Linked DNA regions of Homo sapiens: regions 1, 2, 3, 4, 6 and 7 are each linked to region 5. Evidence: promoter capture Hi-C in 16 types of primary human blood cells and fetal thymus (Javierre and others, 2016). All regions are on one chromosome and are shown on one strand. Each heading gives the region's core, a stretch centred on a gene start or on the middle of the fragment in contact. The rest is flanking DNA. Distances are from core to core; before and after follow the strand shown. Region 1 holds the start of ZNF614 (zinc finger protein 614). Region 2 has its middle 18 kb from the start of ZNF331. Region 3 holds the start of ZNF432 (zinc finger protein 432). Region 4 holds the start of SCGB2B2 (secretoglobin family 2B member 2). Region 5 holds the start of ZNF227 (zinc finger protein 227). Region 6 holds the start of ZNF616 (zinc finger protein 616). Region 7 holds the start of ZNF836 (zinc finger protein 836).

Evidence for each region. Contacts are between HindIII fragments. The CHiCAGO score rates a contact against its expected background, and 5 or more counts as called.
Region 1: a contact is called between the fragment with the promoter of ZNF614 here and the fragment with the promoter of ZNF227 in region 5, in 1 of 17 cell types (naive CD8 T cells). The highest score is 5.1, in naive CD8 T cells.
Region 2: a fragment that was not itself captured here is called in contact with the fragment with the promoter of ZNF227 in region 5 in 9 of 17 cell types (non-activated CD4 T cells, total B cells, activated CD4 T cells and 6 more); the score reaches 28.7 in non-activated CD4 T cells.
Region 3: a contact is called between a fragment that was not itself captured here and the fragment with the promoter of ZNF227 in region 5, in 1 of 17 cell types (total CD4 T cells). The highest score is 9.4, in total CD4 T cells.
Region 4: the fragment with the promoter of SCGB2B2 here is called in contact with the fragment with the promoter of ZNF227 in region 5 in 1 of 17 cell types (total CD4 T cells); the score reaches 7.4 in total CD4 T cells.
Region 6: a contact is called between the fragment with the promoter of ZNF616 here and the fragment with the promoter of ZNF227 in region 5, in 1 of 17 cell types (total B cells). The highest score is 6.8, in total B cells.
Region 7: a contact is called between a fragment that was not itself captured here and the fragment with the promoter of ZNF227 in region 5, in 4 of 17 cell types (total CD4 T cells, naive CD4 T cells, non-activated CD4 T cells and 1 more). The highest score is 8.7, in total CD4 T cells.

What each region holds. Positions count from the first base shown.
Region 1 is chr19:52,026,627-52,030,100 of GRCh38, reverse strand. ZNF614 (zinc finger protein 614) reads left to right here and starts at 1,722. Exons shown (of 5, transcript NM_025040.4): 1 at 1,722-1,859. LOC112268244 (a long non-coding RNA gene) reads right to left here. Exons shown (of 2, transcript XR_002958414.2): 2 at 321-2,989. RefSeq lists enhancers at 1,235-1,994, 2,465-3,235. The HindIII fragment of the contact is 7,426 bases long and covers 1-3,474 here.
Region 2 is chr19:53,518,716-53,522,437 of GRCh38, reverse strand. It overlaps a transcript of ZNF331 not described here. Among named protein-coding and RNA genes, the nearest start is that of ZNF331, 18 kb to the left of the region's middle. RefSeq lists enhancers at 392-1,165, 1,476-1,675, 1,166-1,939, 1,940-2,714. The HindIII fragment of the contact is 293 bases long and covers 1,161-1,453 here.
Region 3 is chr19:52,048,731-52,052,405 of GRCh38, reverse strand. ZNF432 (zinc finger protein 432) reads left to right here and starts at 3,568. Exons shown (of 5, transcript NM_014650.4): 1 at 3,568-3,675. RefSeq lists an enhancer at 3,196-3,675. The HindIII fragment of the contact is 3,416 bases long and covers 1-2,967 here.
Region 4 is chr19:34,675,909-34,679,329 of GRCh38, reverse strand. It overlaps SCGB2B2 (secretoglobin family 2B member 2), which reads left to right and starts at 2,171. Exons shown (of 4, transcript NM_001025591.4): 1 at 2,171-3,421. It overlaps ZNF302 (zinc finger protein 302), which reads right to left and starts at 1,652. Exons shown (of 5, transcript NM_001289187.2): 1 at 1,227-1,652; 2 at 517-593. The coding sequence starts at 525. It also overlaps the pseudogene ZNF807P and the pseudogene SCGB1B2P. RefSeq lists enhancers at 1-28, 886-1,782, 1,914-1,973, 2,024-2,123, 1,783-2,680 and a silencer at 1,404-1,463. The HindIII fragment of the contact is 5,389 bases long and covers 1-3,421 here.
Region 5 is chr19:44,210,649-44,214,376 of GRCh38, reverse strand. It overlaps ZNF227 (zinc finger protein 227), which reads right to left and starts at 1,845. Exons shown (of 6, transcript NM_182490.3): 1 at 1,792-1,845; 2 at 1,133-1,287. The HindIII fragment of the contact is 5,683 bases long and covers 1-2,769 here.
Region 6 is chr19:52,137,740-52,141,423 of GRCh38, reverse strand. It overlaps ZNF616 (zinc finger protein 616), which reads left to right and starts at 1,486. Exons shown (of 4, transcript NM_178523.5): 1 at 1,486-1,692. RefSeq lists silencers at 1,191-1,240, 1,251-1,530 and an enhancer at 1,651-1,890. The HindIII fragment of the contact is 2,387 bases long and covers 1,143-3,529 here.
Region 7 is chr19:52,171,134-52,175,000 of GRCh38, reverse strand. ZNF836 (zinc finger protein 836) reads left to right here and starts at 3,380. Exons shown (of 5, transcript NM_001102657.3): 1 at 3,380-3,665. RefSeq lists a silencer at 3,212-3,261 and an enhancer at 3,842-3,867. The HindIII fragment of the contact is 1,362 bases long and covers 1,768-3,129 here.

The sequences.
Region 1 (3,474 bases), core at 473-2,972, 7.8 Mb before region 5:
ATCACCTTCCTTGTCCCGTGAATCAGCACAGCCTGCCACGGCAAAGTTTTATCAGCCCACTCCTGGAAATGATCAGTGAAGGTCCCATCATGGGCTGCTCATAGTCCTGTGGACCAGGTGCTAAACTTACCTACCAGAGATTAACATTCCAGATGAACGGGGCTGAAATTTAATCCTGGATGGAATATGTTATAACACTCAAGAAATACGAACATGAAATTCTTATTCTCTAGAAATTACAAAACGTAAGTAAAATGAAGAAATTTTAAGTCACCATAATTGTACGGAACAGTCAAATATTGTTAGTATATTCTCCAGAATTTTTCAAATGCATGAGCATATTTATTTTCTGAAAGAAAACAGCCTATTTTGCATTTATCATGCCATGAACTTATTATACATCATCATACCTATTTTCTAAGATCAACATGTTTTATAATATATTCATGATTATGGTACAAAGATAGTAAAATTAAGTATAAATTGGGAATATTTTTCAAGTAAAAACATGGCATTCTCTACCTATGAACACAAACAATATTAATTCAAACTAAATGTCTTGTTTAACCAATCACAATTTTCCAAAAGATGTTTATGATTTCTTCCAATAACAAGACCATAAAATATATACTATCCTGCAGATCATTTTTTTGTCCTCTGACAAAGTTTTCTTTTTTATAAAACAATTGTAGCATATTCTTTTAAATTGATATATACTCTTACAGTTCAGCAGATGTTCCATAATTTACCAAAGTATTCATCTCTCATTGTAATTCCCTTTTTTTGTAAATTACAAAAGTTGTGGTTAATATTAAGACAGATTTGCCTAGATAGCTTTTAGAATTGCTGTGTCAAAGAAAACGAAAAAATTAAATTGGCTCTAGGTTGCCTTCCAAAAATACAATATTTACTTAAATCTTCTACAGTTACAACGCCAACATCTGCAAAAATAGAACTAATATTTTTTAAGTGTGACTTTTTAAAAAATCTGGAAACATTGCAAAGTAGGATGATCGCATTCTAATAATTTCATATTCTTAAGTGCCCCACTGTCATCTTCCTTTACTTCTGGAAGGAAACATGTAGATATTAACACAGTTGCACCTTCACCTCCTCATCCCCTTCCCCACTGGCAGTGGTTTTAATAGCAAGCCCCATGTGGGTATTAGCATTTAATGGAGCATCACTCCTGTTCTCGGCTTCGTCCATTCAGTCAGAGTCTAATCTAACCCACAAAAGCCTTACCCAGCCCAGAACCCCCGCCCTATCCCCAAATCTAACACTTTCAGTGACCACTGGTTTTGGCAACTCTGTGACCGCTTCCTGGCCAGCACCGTGACTTCTTCAAACCTTGTTTATTTTTCCAAATTGTCCTGGATATGAGCATCTTCTCTGCCGTACGGCTGCTGCCTTCCTCTAAGATGGCCGTGCCCATGGTGCTCCAGCTAAGGCTCCACTCTCAGCTATAATGGGCACAAAGGGCGCCGCCATCTTTTTTCCACAGCAGGCTGAATAGAATGCCACTGCGCCGTGTTGGCCTTGGCTGGGCACCCGACTCTTGAGTGTCCCTTGCAACGAAGAGAGAAAGGCACTGAGGTGACTAAGAGTGATTCCCACAGCCATTATGGCCGCTCCTGTCAGAAACGCTGCGATGGGCGCAGCCCTGTGACCTCATAGAGCGGCGCCCGCAGTCTGAACTCGCGATCCCGGGCAGGCTCCGTGGTCCTCGCCTCGCTTCACGGTCTTTACCGCTCAGCTTCCCGGAGTCCGCGCAGGAGCGCGTCTGAATAGGAAGCGTTTTCGGACGTGGATGCGGCGTTTTGTCGCTGCCAGTGGTGTCTGGAGAGGTTCGGGCTCGGGTGAGTCGAGTTCTGGGCATGGACTCGCGGCCTGTGGGTCTGTGTACCGATGGTGCGTGGAGCGTCCTGATTGGGGCTGTATTTGAACGCAGTCGCTGAGGAAGCGGGGCGTTAATGACGGGTCCTTTGGCTGTAGGGATGAAGAGTCTGAGGAAATCAGCGACGAGTCCGACTCTGTCTGGGTCTGGGGCCCTTGTGAGTCACCCTTTACGGGTGTTGGGCTGGGGGACGGTCAGGTCTTTCCCTTCCCATGAGGCCCTATCTCAGGCTATCACATGGGATATTATCTTTCCTGAAGAATATAACATGTGCTCTTGAAAAAAATGTTTATTTTACTGCTGTTGAGTGCAGTGTTAAATGTTCGTTAAGTCTAGTTGGTTGATAATGTTGTTCAAGTTTTCGGTATCCTTGCTGAGTTTCTATTTGTTTTCTTTATTATTGCAAGTAGGGTAATGTAGTCTTCAATTATTATTGTTGAATTGTCTAATCCTCTCTCATTCTGTTTTGCTTCATACGTTTTTAAATTATCATATTCTTATATATACACCCTTATATTATTATTGCCAGCCATTGTAACCATTGTTGCCACTCACCTAGGCCTTGGTGTCCAGAGTTTTATTGGATATCAGTTAACACACACACACACAATTGACTGCCTATGAGGCTGACTTCAATCTCCAGCTCCTCCAGATATCAAACTAATACCACGTGGTCCAAGGTCTCCCACAGTAAATCACATTATTAGGATAGACAATTTGGCATGGCTTAAATTGCCCTGATAACCAAAGACAGTTTTATCAAGCAGCGTATTCCAAAGGCTTAGAGTTTGCCTCATAGGAACTGTGGGCAAAGGACAAAGCTCTCTTGGGTAAAGTTACTCCTTTAGCGCATAATGTGAAATGAGACAGTTCTTGTGATTTGCTTAGTACATTGGTCTTGACACGAGGTATGTATACCCAAAGAGCTTACAGAGACTTTCGAACCAGTACATGGGCACACGTGGTTTTTAAAGACATTCTTGGAGCCTTCCATGTGTTCTCTTTCCTAAAATTGATCTGTCTGAGAATTCACCTTGAAGGGGGCCACCCCTCCACAACCTGTGGGTGTTTCTTGTCAGGTGGGATGAGAGACTGAGAAAAGAAATAAGAGACAAAGTATAGAGAAAGAAAAGTGGGCCCAGGAGACCAGCACTCAGCATACGGAGGACCCACGCTGGCACTGGTCTCTGAGTTCCCTCAGTATTTATTGATCACTATCTCTACCACCTCGGAGAGGGGGATGTGGCAGGACAATAAGGTAATAGTGGGGAGAGGGTCAGCAGGAAAACATGTGAACAAAGGTCTCTGTGTCATAAATAAGTTTAAGGAAACGTGCTGTGCCTTGATGTGCACGCACACAAACATTTCGGTACAATAAAGAGCAGTATTGCCACCAGCATGTCTCACCTCCAGCCCTAAGGCGGTTTTCTCCTATCTCAGTAAATAGAACAGACAATGGGGTTTTACACGGAGACATTCCATTCCCAGGGACGAGGAGGAGACAGATGCCTTTCTCTTATCTCAACCGCAAAGAGGCCTTCCTCTTTTACTGATCCTCCTCAGCAGAGACCCTTTAC
Region 2 (3,722 bases), core at 58-2,557, 9.3 Mb before region 5:
TGGTGAAATCCCGTCTCTACTAAAAATACAAAAATTAGCTGGGCATGGTGGCGTGCGCCTGTGGTCCCAGCTACTTGGGAGGCTGAGGCAGGAGAATCGCTTGAACCTGGGAACCGAGATCGCACCACTGCACTCCAGCCCTGGGCGACAGAGCAAGACTCTGTCTCAAAAAAAAAAAAAACAAAGAAAGAAAATAGGGCACACTTGTCCCCAGACCACAGTTAAAATCAATCAGAAATAAGAGGGCACAGGCATGTGAGTTTTTCAGAGAAATGCTGGAAAACTCTAGGAACTGGGGTTCTGAAACATGGAGCTGCCCCTCTCACCACCTCCCCGCCTCCCATGTCAGGTACCTCTTTCTTCCCCAAAAGGAATTCTATTCTTGAGGTTACTTCCTCTTGTCGTCCAGGTAGTGTGCACGGAGAGCACTTCTGGCTCCAAAACTGCCATCTCGTGACTTGTGAAGCCTTCTTCTTGGTCATTTTCACAATAGCGTAGAGCCTCTCACGTCACTTTGGGACCACTGCTCCCTAGCAGGTACCACATGGCTGGAAGGCCAAGGCACAGGAAGCAACGGAGACACTAGAAAGACAGGTGACATGGTCGCACACACCTGTGCTCACTCAAAAGGCCATGCACCCAGGCCCGATCCCGACCAGTCACAGCCGCACACTCGCTGGCCCTTTCACACCCACAGACGCTCACACCAGAGGGACACTGCCTGTCCCTGTCAACCTGACAGAAGTGCAAAGGCACATTTCAGAGACACGGAGACCCGTCCTGGCCGTGCCACCTCTGCAGACCCCACCAGCATTGACCTCGCACAGAACGGAGGTGCAGAGACACAGCCCGGCTGCGTCACCCCTACAGATGCCCTTACAGCCCGGCGCTATGGCCCTCATAGACGTCTACACACACCTGTGTCACAGTTTATGGGGACAGAGCCCGGCCGCGTCAACCCCGCATGCATCACGGCTTAGGGGAACGGGGCTTGTTCGCATTACCCCACAGACGAAGACAATTATCTCAGTCACTGGGCCACGGCGGGGCCCCACCAGGCAGCCTCTGGCTTATTCACACACACACACACACACACACACACACACTCACACACACTCCCACTTCCCTGCTCGCCGCTCCCGAAGCCTCAGGCCGAAGCTTCTTCATTTTAGGGCCTCCGCGTCCCGAGTGGCTCCCTCACCGCCATTCCCCGCGGAACCCTGCCCTGGCTTCCTCCTGGGAGGCAAATAGCTCCCGGCTCGAGGCCTAACCACACCCAGCACATCAGGAGGTGAAACAAGGTCTCAGGCGCAGTTGGGATAAGATCCAGGAGAAACCATTTTTAAAAATCCCGCGAGCATGAAGCACGCCCCTCAGCCGGCCACCCGGCTCGCTCCTCATTGGACTGTGCCCCAAGGCCCTCTGGGAAATGTAATGCGAAACCAGAGAAGCTTCGACGCAGCTGGAAGGGCGCCCGTCAGTGTTTCCCAGCATGCAACTCTACACGGCGCAAATGGAGCCGTGACCCAGAGGCCTCTGGGAAATGTAGTCCATAACCCGGAAATCCACAGAGTTGGAAGCGGCTGTCAGGATTTCCCAGCATGCAACTCTACGCGACCCTAAGGGCGTCCTGCCTTGAGGGCTTCTGGGAAATGTAGCTCATAACCCGGGAATCGACGTATCTGGAAGGGCGCCCATCAGTGTTTCCCTGCAGGCAACTGCACACGGCCCTAATGGAGCCATGCCCCAGAGACCTCTGGGAAATGCTCACTACGCGGGAATCCTTAGCGCTGGAAGCGCGGCCGTCAGAATGCTTTTCGTCGGTGTCTCCTCCCACTGTTAGAGCAGCTGCACCCCCCATAGACTTCTGGGAAAGCGTATTTCAGACTGGCAGAATCTTCAAATGCTGGAAGCCCTGTCGGCCTTCTCCTGCCCTGAAACTTTGCTTGCTCCTAAGGCGCACCACAAAAAATTCCTGGGAAAAGTGGTTCAGGCTCTAGGGGCCTACAGTTATAATTGCTTACAACTTGCATTTGGGATCCGTCCATAGGGAAGGCGTGTCCCCGCGTCCTTCTGGGAAGGAAATGTAGTCTGAAACGACCAGAAATCACGCCTGTAATCTCAGCACTTTGGGAGGCCGAGGCGGGTATATCACCTGAGATCAGGAGTTCGAGACCCTCCTGCCCAACATGGTGAAACCCCATCGCTCTAAAAATGCAAAAATTAGCCAGGCGTGGTGGTGTGTGCCTGTAATCCCAGCTACTTGGGAGGCTGAGGGAAGAGAATCGCTTGAACCCAGGAGGCAGAGGTTGCAGTGAGCCGAGATCACACCACTGCACTCCAGCCTGGGCGATAAGAGTGAAACAATGTCTCAAAATAATAATAATAATAATAATAAGCCCGGAAAGCTTAAAAGCTGTGATTTGGGAAAAGTTCAAAAATTTCCCAGCATGCAACATGGCCCTCCTTAGAAAAGAGCTGTGCCTCCAGAGCGTTCTTGGAAATACAGCCCCGAGCTGGAAATGCCTCTAGAAAGTGTTAGGTAGGGTGTTTACATGTGAGATTTTGGGGACGTTTCAGCACTGCCCTTTCCCCCACCCCCCAGTAGATTGGGGAGCTCCAGGCATGTGTGTAGGGACCTTGAGTAGGTTCCACGGGAGTGACCTGGTCCTGACTGGGTCTGTGCCAAGGCTCTCTCTGTAAGGGCAGGACTTTGCGTTTCGTTCTCTGATGCTGTCCCAGACTTGGGAGCACTGCCTGGCTCTTCAGATGTCTCTGTGAGTGTTACCTTGGTATGGGCGGGAGAGGCCTGGGCTGTATGGCTTGCTGCCCGGCAGGATATTGACAAGATGTTCTTATGATCAGGCGGTTTGGCCCTTTTTCCGGTGGGATCTCATCAGGATGTTCCTTGGACCTTTGCCAAGAAAGATATGATAGGGATGGTTTTTGTAGTTGGGCCTTTGCCCAGTAGGACATGATGAGAATGTTTCTTTAATTGGGTCTTTGTTCGCCTTGTGGTCAGGTGGTTAGGCAGGATATTTCTCACTGCCTGAACCCCTGTGAAATGTTTCACTTTGACCAAGGTCTGCAAAAGAGCAGGGGGCTTCCGAAATGGTGCAATTTAGACAAACACTGGGGTGTGAGATGCTTTGCCCTAAAAAATATATGCTGTTGTTGGGAGAGAATCATTGGTGGGTGTGACTGGATTTGTGATTGTGTGGACTCATCAGGGAGCCTCCTGGAGCTCAGGTAAGGGAGGGCGCCTGTGAGGTTTTTGGCCTTCATTATGACATGGATGAGATTGTATGTTTCTATGAACGTGTGGGTAAGACTACTGTATAGAGTACCCTTGACATAAGTAACTCCATCTTAGAAAAAGACTCCATCTTGCATTCCACAGGGCACTTTGCCAACAGGGACAAGATGTTTTGCTTAATAAATAAATAATAAAGACTGCATCCAACCAGATAAGGATATAAACAAGCACATTCTTCCACCATCTGTCCTCCCCAGAGGACTCTGTGGCCATAAAAGGAGCAAGGCTTCAGTGGCTTGAAATAACCATCTTAACTGCAACCGTCCTGCTGTCATTTGTGATGAGCACTTGGCATCTGCTGCTGAAGCCTCAAAGACTTCTTGCAAGACCAATGGGCCTGCCCAGCCCTGACCAAGGGTTTTGTTACTCTCCTTGGACTGACTTGTTAACCCTTTTCTCCTATCTC
Region 3 (3,675 bases), core at 10-2,509, 7.8 Mb before region 5:
CATAAATAAGTTTAAGGAAAGCTGCTGTGCCTTGATGTGCACGAGCACAAACATTTCGGTGCAATAAAGAGCAGTATTGCTGCCAGCATGTCTCACCTGCAGCCCTAAGGTGGTTTTCTCCTATCTCAGTAAACAGAACATACAGTCAGGTTTTACACCGAGACATTCTATTCCCAGGGATGAGCAGGAGACAGATGCCTTCCTCTTATCTCAACTGCAAAGAGGCTTTCCTCTTTTACTGATCCTCCTCAGCACAGACCCTTTATGGGTGTTGGGCTGGGGGACAGTCAGGTCTTTCCCTTCCCATGAGGCCATATCTCAGGCTATCACATGGGGAGAAACCTGGGGCAATACCTGGCTTTCCTAGGCAGAGGTCCCTGTGGGCTTGTGCAGTGTATTGTGTCTCTGGGTACTTGAGATTGGAGAATGGTGATGACTTTTACCAAGCATACTGCCTTCAAGCACTTTTTAAACAAAGCACATCCTGCGCAGCCCTAAAACCATTAAACCTTCTGTCAACACAACACATGTCTCTGCAAGCACTGGGTTGGAGCTAGGGTTACAGATTAACAGCATCTCAAGGCAGAAGAATTTCTCTTAGTATAGAACAAAATGGAGTCTCTTTTGTCTACTTCTTTCTACATAGACAAGTTAACAGTCTGATCTCTCTTTCTTTTCCCCACAGCTGCCCTTATTATTTTTTCCTTCATTTCAACTTTGATGAATTCAAACAGGATACAATTTGGGGAATATATGCTTATAATTTGCACTTGAGCTATTCTGTCCGAGTATGCCCCAGGACATTTTATGGAAATACCATGCAGTGCAATTTCAGACTCTGAGCATCTAAAAACCTGCCTCAGTATGCATGAATATTCACTATATGATTATAGTTCTACATGCCTTTGTATGTATAAGATCCATGGCTTGCATTTGCCTTGATTTTTATGTGTGGTAAAAATAAAAATATAGCAAGTGTATACAAATATTAGGAAATGGGCCAGGTGTTGGAGCTCATTCCTGTAATCCCAGCACTTTCGGAGGCCAAGGCAGGTGGATCACATGAGTTCAGAAGTTTGAGACCAGCATGAACAACATGGTGAAACCATGTCTGTACTAAAAATACAAAAATTAGCTGGGTGTGGTGGTACACCTGTAATCCCAGCTATTTGGGAGGCTGAGGCAGAAGAATTGCTTGAACCCGGGAGACAGAGTTTGCAGTGAGCTGAGATTGCACCACTGCGCACCAACCTGGGTGACAGAGTGAGATGCAGTCTAAAAAAAAACTTATTAAAAAAATATATTATATATATGGAAATAAACAATAATTAGGAAATAAGAATTTCTTATTTGTGCTTAGAATACACAGTGAAGTAAACAGAAAAAAAGAACAACAACAAAAAAGAATACATAGTGAAGTAATTTGAAAAGATTAAATGTTAAGACAGGCATGGTGGCTTATGCCTGTAATCCTGGCACTTTGGAAGGTCGAGGTGGGAGGATTGCTTGAGCCCAAAAGTTCAAGACCAGCCTGGGCAACATGATGAAACATCATCTCCACAAAACATACAAATATCAGCTCTGTTATATATGAAATAAACAGAGTTTTCCAAAGATCTTTTATAAGATGGGAGAAAGGAGATGAAATAGAAGAGAGATTGACTTGGTCCTTCAGGATTGGAATCTGATAGATGGGACACTAGAGGAAGTTTAATGTAATCTTTTTGGCTATCTAGATCTAGTTTTTAGGCCCTGGCTAGAAGCCAGTTAGTTCCTCTTCTAGAATGGCCAATTAAGTCTACAATGCCGGCCACAGTGAGCTTGTGGTATTTAGCTTGCCCTAATCCTATCCCCATATCCTCAGCTTCAAGGTAGCCTTGAAAAGCAACCACCTTTTAACAACAGTAACAGTGAATATCTGCACCCTAGCAGAATATCTGCACTTGAGGAGGTAGAAATGGCTCTGAAAATGGCAGAAATGGCTCTGAAACACCCAAAAGCCTCCATCCCCACAGAATGTTCACTACTAAGCCTGCTTTGCAGCCTGCTGAATAGGTCTATTCTCATAGTATTTCTCTATTTGGCTTGACTTTATTTATGTGAACACTCCTACCCATAGGGCACTTGTCAAAAAACAATCAGCAGCAATTGTTTAACACTAGAGTGTTTAGGGGAGTGACAGTGTGTGTCTGCGTGATAGATGGAAGTAATAAGAGGGCACAGGGGAAAGGGGCCATACGCATAAGATGATGGAACAGAGAGCCTGGAGGGTGGGGTATAGAGAGTGTAGGGGAAGGGAGAAGGCAGACAGGTAAAAGGAAAAAGAATGTTAAGTGTTGTTCAGCCTCAAGACTGACATGATGAAAGTACCTTTATTGTGGTTTTTGTAAATTAGAATGCATGCTTTATTATTAAAAAAAACACAATTGAAAATGTTAAGGACCTTTTCCTCCTTGCTTCTTATAAGAAACCATCATAAGACATAACTTGTAATAATTCTGTAGAAATATACATATATAAAGATATATGTATATATATATTTTAAAATAGTATGTTTTTATTGCAAAATATTCATTAGTGTCATCATATCATAGCCAGATCTACAACCCCAGAGTAATTCCCATGGTTATGTTACATGGCAAAAAGGACTCTGCATTGTAATTAAGTTTATTAATCAGCTGACTTTAGCATTGGGAGATTATTCTGGATTGCCCAAGCACTTAAGAATAGGAGAAACCGGAGAGATGCAGCAGCAATAGTCAGTGGTTTCAAATATGAAAGGGATTTCACATACTATTGTTGGCTTTAAAGATAGGAAGTCGTGGGGGCAAGGAAACTCTCTAAAGGAAATTAATCTGGCAACAACCTAAATAATTCTAGAAAAGGATTCTTTTCCAGAGTCAAGAACAGAGCCAGGTGGTTCTTCTCTTCTAAAGACATTTCCATGGGCCAGTTCCACCGCAAGCTTCTCAGAGAGAATATGTTCTGCCGTACGGACACCGAACGTCCCCTAAGATGGCCGCCCCCATGATGCTCTCCCCTAAGGGCTCTGGCTCCGTTACCTGCAACGCACCGCTCGCTTATTTTTTGTTCTAGTCTCTCTTGCTTCAGTTTTTATACGGCTTCTAAAACGCTTCGCATTTACAATAGTGACTGAGGTGCCCAGAGGTGACTTTAATTTTCCATTGAGCTGAGACGTCACAGCCATCATAACCGCTAAGAAGGGATGCCGCGCCTTTGTGGTAATAATGGGTTCTGGCCTTTGAGAAGTTTGCGCCGTTCACTGTCCCCTGCGAGGAGAAGACTAACTTATTTCTGTTCCGTGTCTGTTCAGAGGACTTTACCCCCACGCCGTGTCTGCCTGTGTGAACTCAAGCCTCTGATAAGCTCTCCATTTTCTGCCAGGGCTGAGGTGTCTGGAAATCGGACAGTTTAAGAGGCCTCCGTCCACCGCGTCTCCCGGCCGCTGTGCCTTCTGTACGTCACGTACTCAAAGATGGCCGCCCCCAGAGCGGCGAGGCGACGCCGGCGCGGACGCGTCTCCTCCTGAGGAAAAGCCGGAAGGCCGCATTCCGCTCTCCATGGAAACGCGGCTGACCGTCTCTGGAGGTTTAGAGGGGGAGGGAGTTGGGCGAGGGGCCCAGAAGTGGAAGAAGTTTAGGGAAGTAAGTTCAG
Region 4 (3,421 bases), core at 922-3,421, 9.5 Mb after region 5:
CAGATGCTGGGAATCCAGCTAGGAGGCTACCGCAATAATCCAGGTGGCTCGGACTGGGGTGGTAGTGGTGGTGGTGGTGATGGGCTAACTAATGGTCAGATGCTGTATACGGTGTATCGTTTAGATCCAAACTAGAGGACCTGAATATGAGTTATAAGTCAAAAGGAAGAATCAAGGATGACTCCAAACATCTCTTCACTTGAGACCACATGGTACAGTTTTGACAACCATAAACCGAATAACCTTACATTCCAAAGTTGCATTGTGAATTACAGTTTTAAAATGTTGGCAATCTAGAAAGTCTTCTAGCAGAAAACTGTAGAAAAGAGGAACACTGGGTGATGAGGACAATACCTTGGAGCTCTCCTGTGGGCTCCATTCTTCCTATAGTGAAAGGAACCATAGATCTAGTCCCTTAAATGGACTTGATTAGGTGGGAACAGGCAGGAGAAGCAAAGCAAACACACAGAGGCCTAATAAAGTGTTTCAGGAAGATTTGGGGACACACCGACTTACCTGAGACATTATTCTGCAATTTCCAATGGCCAACAGAGTCCCCTTTCCAGGTTCTTATCTTAGAGATGGGCAGTGTCCTGAGGGCACAGAAAGGCAGGAAAAAGCAGTCATGAAAAATCGGGCTTATCTTGCGGCACCTGTCACACACCTTAATGGAAAAGCACACTGGTAATCACTCGCCGGAGCGTCAATCTCTCCCTGGGAAGGAACAGGGTGTTTCTCCGCAAGGGCTATTTACCAGGTGCCACCTGCGGGGAAAATCAATTATTCTGTATACAAAAGACTCATAAAACAACGGTAACAACTTTATCAGCTCGTTCAGTCTTCACCACTTTGCAAGGTGTGCATTCATATTATTCCAGATTTTTTTTTTTTTTTTTTTGAGACGGAGTCTCGTTCTGTCTCCAGGCTGGAGTGCAATGGAGCGACCTCGACTCACTGCAACCTCTGCCTCCCGGGTTGAAGCGATTCTCCTACCTCAACCTCTCGAATAGCTGGGATTATAGACACGTGCCACCACGCCCAGCTAATTTTTTTTTGTATTTTTAGTAGAGACGGCGTTTCGCCATGTTCGTTAGGCTGGTGCGGTGGCTTACGCCTTTAATCCCAGCACTTCGGAAGGCGGAGGCGGGCGGATCGCTTGAGGTCGAGTTCTAAACCAGATTTATTTTTTAAAATGAAGACAAAACTGAAATTCCGAGATACTGAACCCATTTGTTCAAGGTTGCACAACTGAAAGCGCCGGCTTCATGACGACATAACCCAAAAAAAACTGTAGCTGGCGTCTGCTCTCGCGCCCACTTCGCTCTCACAACAGTGCCAAGAGGTCGGCGCCGTCATCACCCCGCGTTTACACGGCTCAACAGGAAGGCCAGGAAATGCCCAAGGCCCCGGCCGTGGTCAAACCGCGCGCGGACCCAGGGCCTTAGCCCCGCCGTCGCCGCGACCCACACTTGCCGGAGTCCTCAGCAGGGCCTCACCGTCCCGCAGGCGCCCCGAGCCCGCGCCTCCGCGGACCTGACGCGCCGCGTAGCTGGTGAGCGGGTAACGGCGGCCGACCTCCGGGAACGACACTGCCCCAAACCGTTCCTTAGCTTGGAAGCCGCCGCCAGGCCTGAAGCTATCGCGGGACTGACCCAGTGCACCGCCCACGGCGAACCACATTTCCCAGAATCCTCCCCCTGCGGTACAAATGTCCCGGAAGCCGCGAACCGCCGGCACCCGAAGACCACACTTCCCAAGGGTCTCTGCGGCTGCGCGGACCTGGTGCGCCGCGGGCAAACCGGTCACGGCTTTGTAAGTAGCTTAACCGCCTGGGGCCGTCGACCTAGAGCCGGCCAGCTAGGACCATGCGCAAATTGTCCTGGGGCACACAGTCGTCCTCTGGTGAACGATACAACTCGAAACCAAGGGACACCCTCTACTTATAAGGGCCATGGCGCCCGGACCAAGAAATTACATTTCCCAGAAAACTGCAGCCGTGCCAAGGTCTTCCGGGTCATTCCTGCGCTCACACAAACGTTTCCCTCCGAGACATGGGCAGCCCTTGCTGGTACCGCGCAAGTGCTCGCCGTTGCTAGCAAAGGGGCTCCTCTCATCCCAAACCCTGCCGCTATGCTGTTCACCTTCAGGTCTTTTTTTTTTTTTTTTTTTGGCACTCATTTGCCCAAGACGATAACTCACAAAACGCCCTGTGGCCCGACTGTCACGACTGTAGTTCGCCAACCAAGGGCATTTCCTGGAAATGCAAGGGGACACGTATCTGTGACACTAATGGCCGTTCTGACGTGCGTTACGCCCCTGGAAGGACTTGGAAATACTGAACTTGAGTGAGCACTGGGAGGATGGAGACCCTCATCCTGGGAGGAGTCACTCCTCCCGCAGCCATCACAGCCTGACGCCCCCTCTCCCCAGAAGTGCTTCTTAGGCCCACCCAAAAGGGCAATGGACCTCTCTGTATGCAAGCCAGAGCAGTCTACTGTTTGTGTATATTTGGGTTGTTTACTTTCTTTTTAACACTTAAATGTTAATTGACTTCAATCATTTTTAAAATTATAAATAGTGTCGCTATAGACTTTTTTGTACTTATTAAGTACTGACCTGCATGATCTTCGTGAAGCAGTGCTTCTGTTACCAGAAAGGGGTCCGGATCCGACCCCAAGAGAGAGTTCTTAGAGCTCACGCAAGAAAAAATCCATGGGAGAGCACAGTGCAAAGCCAAAGCAAGTGTATTAAGAAAGTAAAGAAACAATGGGTACTCCATTGTTAGAGCAGCAGCTTGGGCTGCTGGACTAGGGATACTTGTATTTATTGCTTGATGATGTGCTAAACAAGGGTGGATTATTCATGAGTTTTCCAGGAAAGAGGTGGGCAATTTCAATTTCTCGGAGCTGAGGGCTTCCCAGCTTTTTGAACCATACAGGGTAACTTCTGAACCTTACCATGGCATTTGTAAATTGCCATGGCACTGATGAGCGTTTCTCTTAGCGTGCTAATGCATATAATTAGCATATAACCGAGAGGTGAAGCCAGCTGGGCTTCTGGATCAGGTGGGGCCTTGGAGAACTTTTCTGTATAGCTGAAGGATTGTAAATACACCAATCAGTGCTCTGTGTCTAGCTAAAGGTTTGTAAATGCACCAGTCAGCACTCTGTAAAAACGGACCAAACAGCACTCTGTAAAATAGACCAATCAGCGCTCTGTAAAATGGACAAATCAGCAGGATGTGGGCGGGGCCAAATAAGGGAATAAAAACGGGCCACCCGAACAACCAGCGGCAACCGCGCTGGGGTCTACTTCCCAGGTGTGGGATGTTTGTTCTTTTGCTCTTTGGGTCTGCACTACCTTTATGAGCTGCAACACTCACCCTGAAGGTCTGCAGCTTCACTCTTGAAGCCAGCGAGAC
Region 5 (3,728 bases), core at 596-3,095:
AAGAAAAAAGAAAATTTTCATAATAAGAAAAAAACTACTACACAGAATACCAAACCTATTTTGAGAAACATCCATAGCATATACTAAAGGGAAACACATTAAAGTGTTAGCAGTTTTATTATAAGTAATTTAAGTTTTCTGAATATAACATCACTGTCCAATAGAAATATACTGAGACACATAAATAATTTTAAATTTTCTAGCAGTAACATATAAAAAAGGCAAAAAAACAAAAACAAAAATAGGTGAAGTTAATTTCAACAACATAATTTAAGCCAATGTATCCAAAATATTACCATTTTGACATATAATACAAAAAATTATCAATGAGCCATCTTACATTTTTTGTACAAAGTTTTTGAAATCCAGTGTGTATTTAACACTTACAGCACATCTCAATTTGGACTAGACACATTTCAAGTGCTCCTAGGGCACACATGGCTTATAGCTACTGGATTGGATAGTGCATCTCTATAATGAGCATTCATTACTTCTATAACTAGAATATGACATATTTTGACATGGAATGAAATTAAGTAAGTGAGATGTTGCAGGATTTTTCTAAAAAATTCAAAATTCATCAGTGCAGTTTTTGAGGTCTTCCACAGTAAAATCCATACCTACATTCCCAAGGCTGATTTCCAACGACTCACCGGTAGCCATATGGATTACTATTTAAGATAACTGAAGACGACTGTATCATTGAGATTAAGACCACAGACTCAGAAAAAGGAATAGAAAATAAACAACAACAAAAACCAAAGAAACAAAAACAAACAAAAAAGATCACACAGTCTGAAAAGGAATGCTTGGGTTCAATCCCAAATCCACCTCTTACTATCAGTTGAATAACTTCGGGAAAGTATTTAATAACATAAACTCTGCCTAATTTCCTCATAACAAAATAACAAGACCTACTTCATCAATAGCTATGGTCCACAGACGAATGCCTTAAAATCAAAGTGGTAAGATGTTATTGGTAATACTCATTTCCAAGTAGTTTTCCTACCCACTCTCACATTTATTCAACAAATATTTCATCATTTTTCAGTAGTAACTTACTGAGTGACGGAAACTTGATTAACTGAAAGGACAGAAAATGGAACAACAAAGTGCGTTCAAGAGCAGGTACCTGGGGCTATGCTGGGAGAAGCCAAGAAGTCCCTCCTTCCTCCTCTTTGCAAATTCGGAGGCGGTGAATAAAAGGATGCTGTCAGCACGATGGAGTCTCTATCCCGGATAAACGGCGGTAAACATCCCCACGCATTGGAGCCCGATGACTCAATCCTTCTTAAAAAAAAAAAAGATCTGTAAAAGTTCGGGAAGAGCTCGGTCTCCTGAAGGATACGACAGAAAGGCCATGGCATAAAGCCCTGACTTTTCTTCTCTCTTCACTGGAGCTTCCAGTAAAAAGGGCGCTTGTGAGGGAATCACTGTATCAATAGCAGGAGCCAACCCAGTATCAGGTGCCACCACTGTTCTAAGGTTTGACCCGTATTATCTTGTTTAATTCTAATTACAACCCTACACAGTAACGACTATCTTTATTGCTATTTTAAAGATGAGGAAACAGGAGCGCGGATCATAGGTAACTCGCTGTTTATTATACCCACAGAACTAGCGGCGCTGCTTGCCAAGTGCGGGAGGAGAGCAAACTTCCCGCCCTCGGCCTCTCGGCCTCCGCCGCGGCCGCGACCTCTCCATCCCAAGACTGATGGCTGGGGAGCGCCTATTCCCAAGCACAGGCTGAAAAGGTTCAAGAGGGGTCGTGGGGGTGCAGGGCTGACTCACCTCCCGGACCCAAAAGATGGTGGCGGCCTCGCTTTCCGGGGCGGAAGTGGCTCTGCCTGCCCAGAGCTCCTGAACTACCCTTCCCAGAAGGCCCGCGCTCCTGCGGCCCAATTGTTTCCGGACAGAGTTCTGGAATACGTTTCCCAGAACTTCCAGAAGGAAAAACCATCCAGGTGCCGCCCTCTTCGCGCTTGAAAAAAAAAAAAACAAAAAAAAAAACGGAGCGAGCGAGTGAGAGAGGGTTACGGAGAGTGTGACAAAATTCTCGGAGCTCCCGGACTACAACATCCAGAATCCTCTTCACGGCTTATTGCTGTTTAGCCAGGCTGAAGCAGTTCTCTGATGTCAGTGGAATTTAGGTTTTTCTTATTAACAAAAAGTAACAGCAAATATGTGAAGAATTGGAGCCCTAAAATAAAAAAAGACTCCCAGCACTTTGGGAGGCCGAGGCGGGCGGATCACGAGGTCAGGAGTTCCAGACCAGCTTGGCCAATATGATGAAGCCCCGTCTCTACTAAAAATATAAAAATTAGCCGGGCGTGGTGGCGCGCGCCTGTAGTCCCAGCTACTTGGGAGGCTGAGGCATAAGAATCGCTTGAACCCTGGAGGGTGCAGTGAGCCAAGATCGTGCCACTGCACTCCAGCCTGGGCGACAGAGTGAGACTCTGTCTCAAAAAAAAAAAAAAGAAAAAAAAAACTATTATAAGAAACAGATCACGTGATCCTGTACTAATAGAATTATACCCACCACTTCCAAAAAAAAAAAAAAAAAGGGCAGAGGAAACCCTTTAAGTTTTTACATTTAACAGGATCGACTAATAGAAAAACTACTCTTTAGATACTAAAAGAATGAAAGAGCAATCAAAAAATGCAACGAAGGCAGAATATATTATGGATTTCCACTTTTCTTAATAGCACAGTCATATAATTCAGAACAACTTGCTTACTGAGGATAGCTAGACATAGAAAACACAAGCTTTGGCATATGGTAGATCAACTCCACAAAGCAACTAGGGCCTCTGTAATCATTCCTCAAGGAGTTTCTGAATTTGAAAGATGAACAAATTTATTACTTCAGTGTTTAAACCTTGATCTTTATTTGCTTAAATGTATAATGGAATTGATGTTTCCAAGAATTGAGGGTTGAAAGAAGAGAGCAATACCTAAAAATATCCACATATCTACTACAGTACATGTTTGCAGTTCTCATTTACTAAATATATATTCTTTATTCTGTTATATACAACTATCTCTTATAAAGAACCAAGTATGTGCCAGGAACTAGTTCAAACTATTCAGACTATGGGACCCTCACTACATTTTCACAACTTTTTTCTTTTTTTTTTTGTTCTGTTTTGTTGTTGTTGTTGTTGTTGTTGTTGTTAGACAGAGTTTGGCTCTTTTGCCCAGGCTGGAGTGAAGTGGCATGACCTCGGCTCATTGCAACCTCCGCCCTCACACAAGGTTCAAGCAAGTCTCCTGCCTCAGCCTCCCAAGTCGCTGGGGTTATAGGCACCCCCCTCCCCACCACGCCCAGCTAATTTTTGTATTTTTAGTAGAGACGGGGTTTTGCCATCTTGGCCAGGCTAGTCTTGAATTCCTGACCTCAGGTGATCCACCCGCCCCGGCCTCCCAAAGTGCTAGGATTACAGGCATGAGCCACCACACTTAGCCCATTTTCACAACTTTTTTAAAACAAATAATGTCCTCTAGTTTACTCTTTGGGATCCAGAGGCAGAGAGAGGTTAAGTATATCTCCTAAGATGGAAATTTGATTATTTTCACCTGCATGTCTATCCAGTGCCCTTAAGAGAAGGTTCAAATGCTTTAACAAGTCGCACAAACAGGAATTTTCCAGATGCTGTTTCTCTCTTGGAATCCACTTTCCACTCTACATGTCCAGCCATAGTGGATTACTTGTACTCCTACAAAAAGCC
Region 6 (3,684 bases), core at 237-2,736, 7.9 Mb before region 5:
AAATCTTTCTTCATGGTCCAGAACATATAAAAAAAAATAGAGGAAGCAGATAAGCTGTAGGTCTCTTTTTCTTTATGGCCAAGGACATATGGCCTTTCTGTGGAAAGAACGTAAATAAGTCACAAACTTTCTGCTTTCATTTATCATCAAACGCCTCAGCTAACAGAAGAATGCAAGTTAGCTCCCTGCTACCTTGGCCTCCCAAAGTGTGGGGATTATAGGCGTTAGCCACTGCACCCAACCAAATCTCCTCTTCTCATGGCTCACTGCAGCCTTCACCTCCTGGGCTCAAATGATCCTCCTTCCTTACCCTTCCGAGTTGCTGGGCCCACACGTGCAGGCCACCATGTCCAGATAATTTAATTTTTTGTAGAGAGGTCTGGCTATGTTGCCCAGGATGATCTCAAATCCCTGGCCTCAAGCAATTCTGACACCTCAGCTTCCCAAGTAGCTGGGACTACAAGAGTGCATTACCAAGCCTGGCTACTTTTTGTATTTCTTGTAGAGATGGGGGTCTCACGATGCTGTCCAGGCTGGTTTTGAACTCTTGAGCTCAAGTGACCTGCCCACCTGGGCCTCCAAAACTGCTGGCCCATCTCAAAAGACTTAATCCATTTCAGTATCAACTCTCAAAAGTCTTAATCCATTCCTGTATCAGCTCTTAGGGCAGAATACCCCCTAAATATTATCTGAACCACACATGGGTGAGAATCAAGGTGTGATTCATCCTGAGGCAAAATTTCTGCCCAGCTGTGAATCTGTGAGGCCAGAGAAGTTATCTGCTTCCAAAATATAATGGTGATAAAGGCATAGGATACATCCCCCAGCCCTGGTAACCACCCTTCTAATCTGTTACTGTAAATTTGACGTTTGTACTTTGCACGTGTAAAAGCACAGGCAGTATTTGTCTTTCTGTGTCTAGCATATTTCGCTTGGCATAATGTCTTCCGGGTTCCTGGATCCAGCCACGGCTCCACATCAAATCCCCAGCGAGATCCTAGTTCCCTGACTATTGAGTAGCTTCAGCATCATCGGCAAGAGTGGATGGAGTCCACCAAGCTTGTAAAAATCGGTTTTGACTTAGTTCAACTTGTTAAGAAATCATCTTAGTTTCTAATATAAGTGGACCACAACTTTAAGCTTTAACCTTAAATTTTGAAACATTAACTTAAAATAGGCAGGCAGCAACGCTGCTTCACAGGACAAGAAGTAGTCAGAAAACCAAAGACATGCTGCCTGTGAACCAGAGTAAATAACAGGCTCTATTTCGGCCCCGCTTACCCCATGAAACCCCGCCCCATCCTCCGCCGCGGCTCCGTCCCGCCCCACCTAGCCACGCCCACTGCCGCTCCGGCCCGGCTCCACCCTCTCAGGGTCCCTCCCCGAGTCAGGCCCCTCTTTCCGACCCGCCCCTTGCTGGTCGCGGCTCGCCCAGGCCCCGCCCCCTGGCCTCCCAGTTTTTTCTCTCCGCTAGCAGTTTCCGTCACTCCCGGAAGCAGATTGCGCCAGGGAAAGGCCTTATCGCTGTGTGTGTGTTTCAGTCTACGTGGATTAAACATTACTTCGCTCCGTCTGCCTGGATTAAACGTGCACTTTGCAGTCCTCACTTCTCCGTACCAGTGATCTGGGGATCGCTACGGACCTTAAAATACCCATAGCCCCTTCGCCCCTGCAACAGGCACTTCTCCCCACGTAAGTCCGAGAATTGCTTCCCTGTCGGTTTAAAATCTCTCTCAGGCTGTTCCTTGCCCCCTGCCTTTCTGCCATGTAGATAACCATGTCGATAACCCCATTCAGGTCGTGTTCCTGCTTAAAACTCTCATTGACCCCTGCTTCGGCCCCGGGCGAAGTCAAGTCCTCCCTCGCGAGGTGGATTCCCACCAGTCGAGACCCCCGAGCTTCGCCCTTGTCGACGCCTGGAGGGGAGCGCCCGCTGCCCAGCTCCTGAAGGAGCCGCTTCTTCTCCCAGGTCCTGGGATTCTGCAGACCCTCCCTGTCCTGAGACACCGTCCCCCGCGCCACCTAGTGTCCTCCGCGCGCCACCTAGTGTCCTCCTCACGCCGGGTCCTTCCCCTCCCCAGGCTGCCCCTTCACAGCCACTGCTTTTCCTGACTCCGCGTTGCAGGAGGTCACCCGAGTCTGTCTTGTGACACCCACTGTCGTTCCTTCCCAAATTTTTACTCCACTGGAAAATGTGCTCTTCCGGGAGGTGGGCATCGTATTCCTCCCCTTTCCTCCTGAATGTGTGGGTGAGAGGGATCAGGAGAGGAAAAGAGGGGGAGCGACGGGACAGAAAGAAAAACTGGGGAGAAAAGAATGAGTACACGGCAAAATGGATGATAATTTAGGTACTGGCAAAGAGAGCAAGAGTGCAAGAGGACGCATGGAGAAAGTAGCACGGGGAGAAAAGCACATAAAGAAATTAGGGAAAAGGGAGAGCTTCAGGGAGCTGAAGGGCAGCAAAATAGAGAGGGGCGGCAAAGGAGGAGGCACTGCAGTCAGACGCGGGGGGCGGAAAAGGTAAGAGTCGGAGCCGCGGCTGACAGAGCCACGTGGTGCTGGGACTGAAGGAGAGGGGAGTGGGTAACAAAGGAGAGTAGAGGGAGAACCACAGCAAGGAGGAAGCCTAGGAAGTTGGGGGTGCTAGAGAGTGGGAACAAAGGAGATGTAACAGGGAAAAGGGAATTTAACAGGGAAGAGGGATTTTAACAGGGAGAGCAGACAGGGAGCTCAGATGGGGGAAAAGAGGCAGGAATACGTGGCGGCTGGGGACAATGGGAAAGTTTGGGGAGAAAGAGCAACAAGAGGTGAAATAAATTTCGAAGCATTGGGCAGAATAGACATAAAAGAGGGAATAAAGAAAGGGGAGAAAAACAGCAAAGGGAAAAAAGACGTGCAGAATGAGAGCGGGAAACACATAGTAGTGAAGAGAGTGGGCGAGGACCCCACCCAGATGAGCTGTGAGTTGATTGGATATGGATGGTGGTTTTAATGTATTGATTTGTGACTTTATACTCTAATTTAAAATTTGTTTCTTTAAATTGTACTCATGAGGATGAAAATTACCACTCTTTTCTACAAGGCTTGTGCATTTTGTATTTGTTTATATCAAAAGATATTTGGAATCCCTATTTAGCCACAGGGCAGTGACTTGATTCAGTCATTTTGTAACTCTTCTTTCCAGGGAGGGAGTAGAGGATGGAGGAGGAGAGAAATAGGCAAGAAATGACTGACTGTCACTACAAGATGTATCTTTGGTTTTTTGTTTGTTTTTTCTCTTTTTGAGACAGGGTCTCTGTCGCCCAGGCTGGAGTGCGGTAAAATTATATCGGCTCACTGCAGCCTCTCAGCTGCACTCCATCCTCCTCAGCCCCTGAAGGTGCTGGGATTACATGTGTGAACCACCTCTACAGGCCTACAATGTATGTCTTTGAAGGAGAGTTGAGAGTGTTGGTTTTTTGTTTTGTTAATGGATTTACTTTTTTCCTTGTAGTTGCTTTACAGTTAATTCATTGTTATTTTGGAAGCTTGATTTAAATTTTAGTTTATTCAGTTTCTTCTATAATTACTAACTTCTGAAATAAGATTTGATGTCATCCTGTAATCAGCTGATGTCATTAATTTCTCAATATTGCCTTTTTTTAACTTTTACCCCATAATTTATTAGATTTTTCAAAAACTTTC
Region 7 (3,867 bases), core at 1,199-3,698, 8.0 Mb before region 5:
TAGGCTAAACTTGTGTAATGGTGTTGATCCGAAAAGTAATGCAGAGCCTCTAAAAGCCTCTGATCATATGCAAAAGATGAAGTTCTGGTCTCAGGGAGAAGAATCCATCCATAGAATGTCACACTCCTGTGGGTCACAGCAAAGGACCACTGACTGAAAAGTCAATTGCGGATCACATACAGATCAGCCTTCTTTGAGTTTCTCGAGGAAGGAAAAATAGTATTTATTTATTGAGACGAAGTATTGCTCTGTCGCCCAGGCTGGAGTGCAATGGTGCCATCTCAGCTCACTGCAACCTTCCTGTCCTGGGTTCAAGAGATTCTCCTGCCTCAGTCTGAGTAGATGGGATTACAGGCGCCCACCACCATGCCGGGCTGATTTTTGTATTTTTGGTAGACACTGGGTTTCACCATGTTGGACAGTCTGGTCTTGAACTCCTGACCTCAGGTGATCTACCCACCTCAGCCTCCCAGAGTGCTGGGATTACAGGCGTGAGCCACCATGCCCAGCCCTTTTTTAAGATTTATATTTCTTTCTTACTTAATTACCTACTCATCTGAAGGAAATTTTTTTTTTTAAGACGGAGTATCACTCTGTCCCCAGGCTGGAGTGCAGTGGCGCGATCTCGGCTCACTGCAACCTCCACCTCCCAGGTTCAAGCGATTCCCCTGCCTCAGCCTCCCAAGTAGCTGGGTCTACAGGTGCGTGCCACCACGCCTGGCTAATTTTTTGTATTTTTAGTAGAGACGGGGTTTCACCATGTTAGCCAGGATGGTCTCGATCTCCTGACCTCGTGATCAGCCCCCGTCAGTCTCCCAAAGTGCTGGGATTACAGGTGTGAGCCACAGCCCCCGGCCTTGGAAAAATATACATTTTTTAAATTTTATCTACTTTACAGTTTGGGCGGCCAAGGCAGGAGGCTCACTTGAGCCCAGGAGTTCAAGACCAGCATGGACAACAACGTGAAACCCTATCTCTACAAAAAATTTGAAAATTAGTCAGGTGTGGTGGCACATGCCTGTAGTGCCAGTGTATTAGTTTGTTCTCACATTGCTATAAAGAAATACCTGAGATTGGGTAATTTATAAAGAAAAGAGGTTTAATTGGCTCATGGCTCTGCAGGCTGTACAGGAAGCATGATGCTGGCATCTGCTTGGCTTCTGGAGAGGCCTCAGAAAACTTACAATTATGGCAGAAGGTGAAGGGGAGGCAAGTACTTCACATGCCCAGACAGGAGGAAGACAGAGAATGGGGAGGTGCCACACACTGTTTTTTTTGAGCCTAGGTTGGAGGGCAGTGGCACGATCTTGGCTCACTGCAACCTCCGCCTCCCGGGTTCAAGCGATTCTCCTGCCTCAGCCTCCCAAGTAGCTGAGATTACAGGTGCGTGACACCACACCCGGCTAATTTTTCTTTTTTTTTTTTTAAGAGACAGAGTCTCACCCTGTCACCCAGGCTGGAGTGCAGTGGCGCGATCTCGGCTCACTGCAAGCTCTGCCTCCCAGATTCAAGCAATTCTCCTGCCTCAGCCTCCCGAGTAGCTGGCACTAAAGGCATGCGCCACCACACCTGGCTAATTTTTGTATTTTCAGTAGAGATGGGGTTTCACCATGTTGGCCAGGCTGGTCTCAAACTTCTGAGCTCAAGTGATCCATCCACCTTGACCTCCCAAAGTGCTGGGATTACAGGCATGAAGCACTGCTTCCAGCCAAATTTCCTCTTATCAAAACATCAGTCAGATTGCATCAGAGCCCATTCTAACAAGCTTAGTTTAACTTAATAGCCTCTAAATGCCCTATTTCAAAATACAGTCATATTCTGAGGTACTGGGTGTTAGAACTTAAAGACAATGATTTATTTTATTTTATTTATTTATTTATTTTTTGAGACAGAGTCTCGCTTTGCCGCCCAGGCTGGAGTGCAGTGGCTGGATCTCGGCTCACTGCAAGCTCCGCCTCCTGGGTTCACGCCATTCTCCTGCCTCTGCCTCCGGAGCAGCTGGGACCACACGCACCCGCCACCACGCCCGGCTAATTTTTTGCATTTTTAGTAGAGACAGGGTTTCACCGTGTTAACCAGGATGGTCTCGATCTCATGACCTTGTGATCCGCCCGCCGCGGCCTCCCAAAGTGCTGGGATTATAGGCATGAGCCACCGCGCTTGGCCAACAATGATTTTTTAGGGACGTGATTCAGCTCATAACATTCTGTACTCTGGACTCCCAAAATTCATGTCCTTCTCACATGCAAGATCCCTTCACCCCCATCCTAACATCTCAAAAGTCTTATTATTATTATTTTTTGAGACAGAGTCTCACTCTGTTGCCCTGGCAGCAGTTCAGTGGTGCAAAGACAACTCATTGCAGCCTTGATCCCCTGGGCTCAAGAGATCCTCCCACCTCAGCCTCCCAAATAGCTGTGACTATAGGCGTGAGCCACCATGCCTGGCTAATTTTTGTATTTTTTGTAGAGACAAGGGTCTTACTATGTTGCCCCAGGTTGGTCTTGAATTCTTGAGCTCAAGCAATCCTTCCACCTTGGCCTCCCAAAGAGCTGGGATTACAGGCCAGAGCCACTGCTCCTGGCCCATTTCAAAAGTCTTAATCCATTTCAGTATCAAACTCTAAGGCCCAAATATTACCCAAATATTATCTGAATCACATATGGGTGAGACTCAAAGTGTGGTTCATCCTGAGGCAAAATTTCTGTCCAGCTGTGAAACTGTGAAGCCAAAGAAGCTATTTGCTTCCAAAATACAATGGTGGGACAGGCACAGGATAGACCGTCAGCCCTGGAAACCACCCTTCTACTCTGTTACTGTAATTTTGATGTTTGTAGATTGCACATGTAAGTAAGCACATGCAGGATTTGTCTTTCTGTGTCTAGCACATTTCGCTTAGCATAATGTCTTCAGGGTTCCTGGATCCAGCCACGGCTGCACATCAGATCTTCACGGAGATCCTAGTTCCCTGACTACTGAGTAACTTCAGCCTTAACTGGCTTCAGCCTCACTGGCAAGACCCGATGGAGTCCACCAGGCTCGCAAAAATCGATTTTGACTTAAATCAGTTCAACTTGACAAGAAGAAAACATCTTAGTTTCCAACAGAAGTGGACCACAACTTTAAGCTTTGACCTTAAAGTCTAAAACATTAACTTAAAATAGGCAGGAAGCAACGCTGCTTCACAGGACAAGAAATAGTCACAAATACTCCTAAATCGGGAGAACAAAGACTTGCTGGGTGGAAGGCAGAGCGAATAACAGGCCCCGCCCACCAAACAGGTCCCGCCCACACCGCCCGTCCCGCTTAGCCCACCTGGCCCCGCCCACTACCGCATCAGCCTTGCCCCACCCTTTCAGGGTTCCCAAATCTGGCCAGTCTTTCTGCCCTTTCCCTTGCGGGTCGCACCCCGCCCAGGCCCCTCTCCCGCCCCAGGTCTCTCAGTCTTTTTTCTCAGGGCGTGTAGCTTCCTGCACACCCGGAAGCAGATCGCGCGGGGAAAAGATCACAGCGCTGCGCGTCAGTTTCCGTCTACCTGGACTAAACATTTGCTTCGCCCCGTCTGCCTGAATCGAACGTGCACTTGGCAGTCTTCCCTTGTCCATACCCGTTTCCTGGGGATCGCTACGGACCTTAAAATACCAGCAACAGCCCCTTCGCCCCAAGTAAGTCTGATAATTGCTTCCCTTTCGGTTTAAAAATCTCTCTGAGGCTGTTCCTTGCTCCCTGCCTTTCTGCCTTAGGACCATGTAGACAACCCCACTCAGGTCGTGTTCCTGCTTAAAACCCTTACTGACCTCTGCTTCGGCCCTGCGCCAAGTCGAGTCCTCACTCGGGAGGTGGATTCCCGCCCGTTGCGACCCCGGA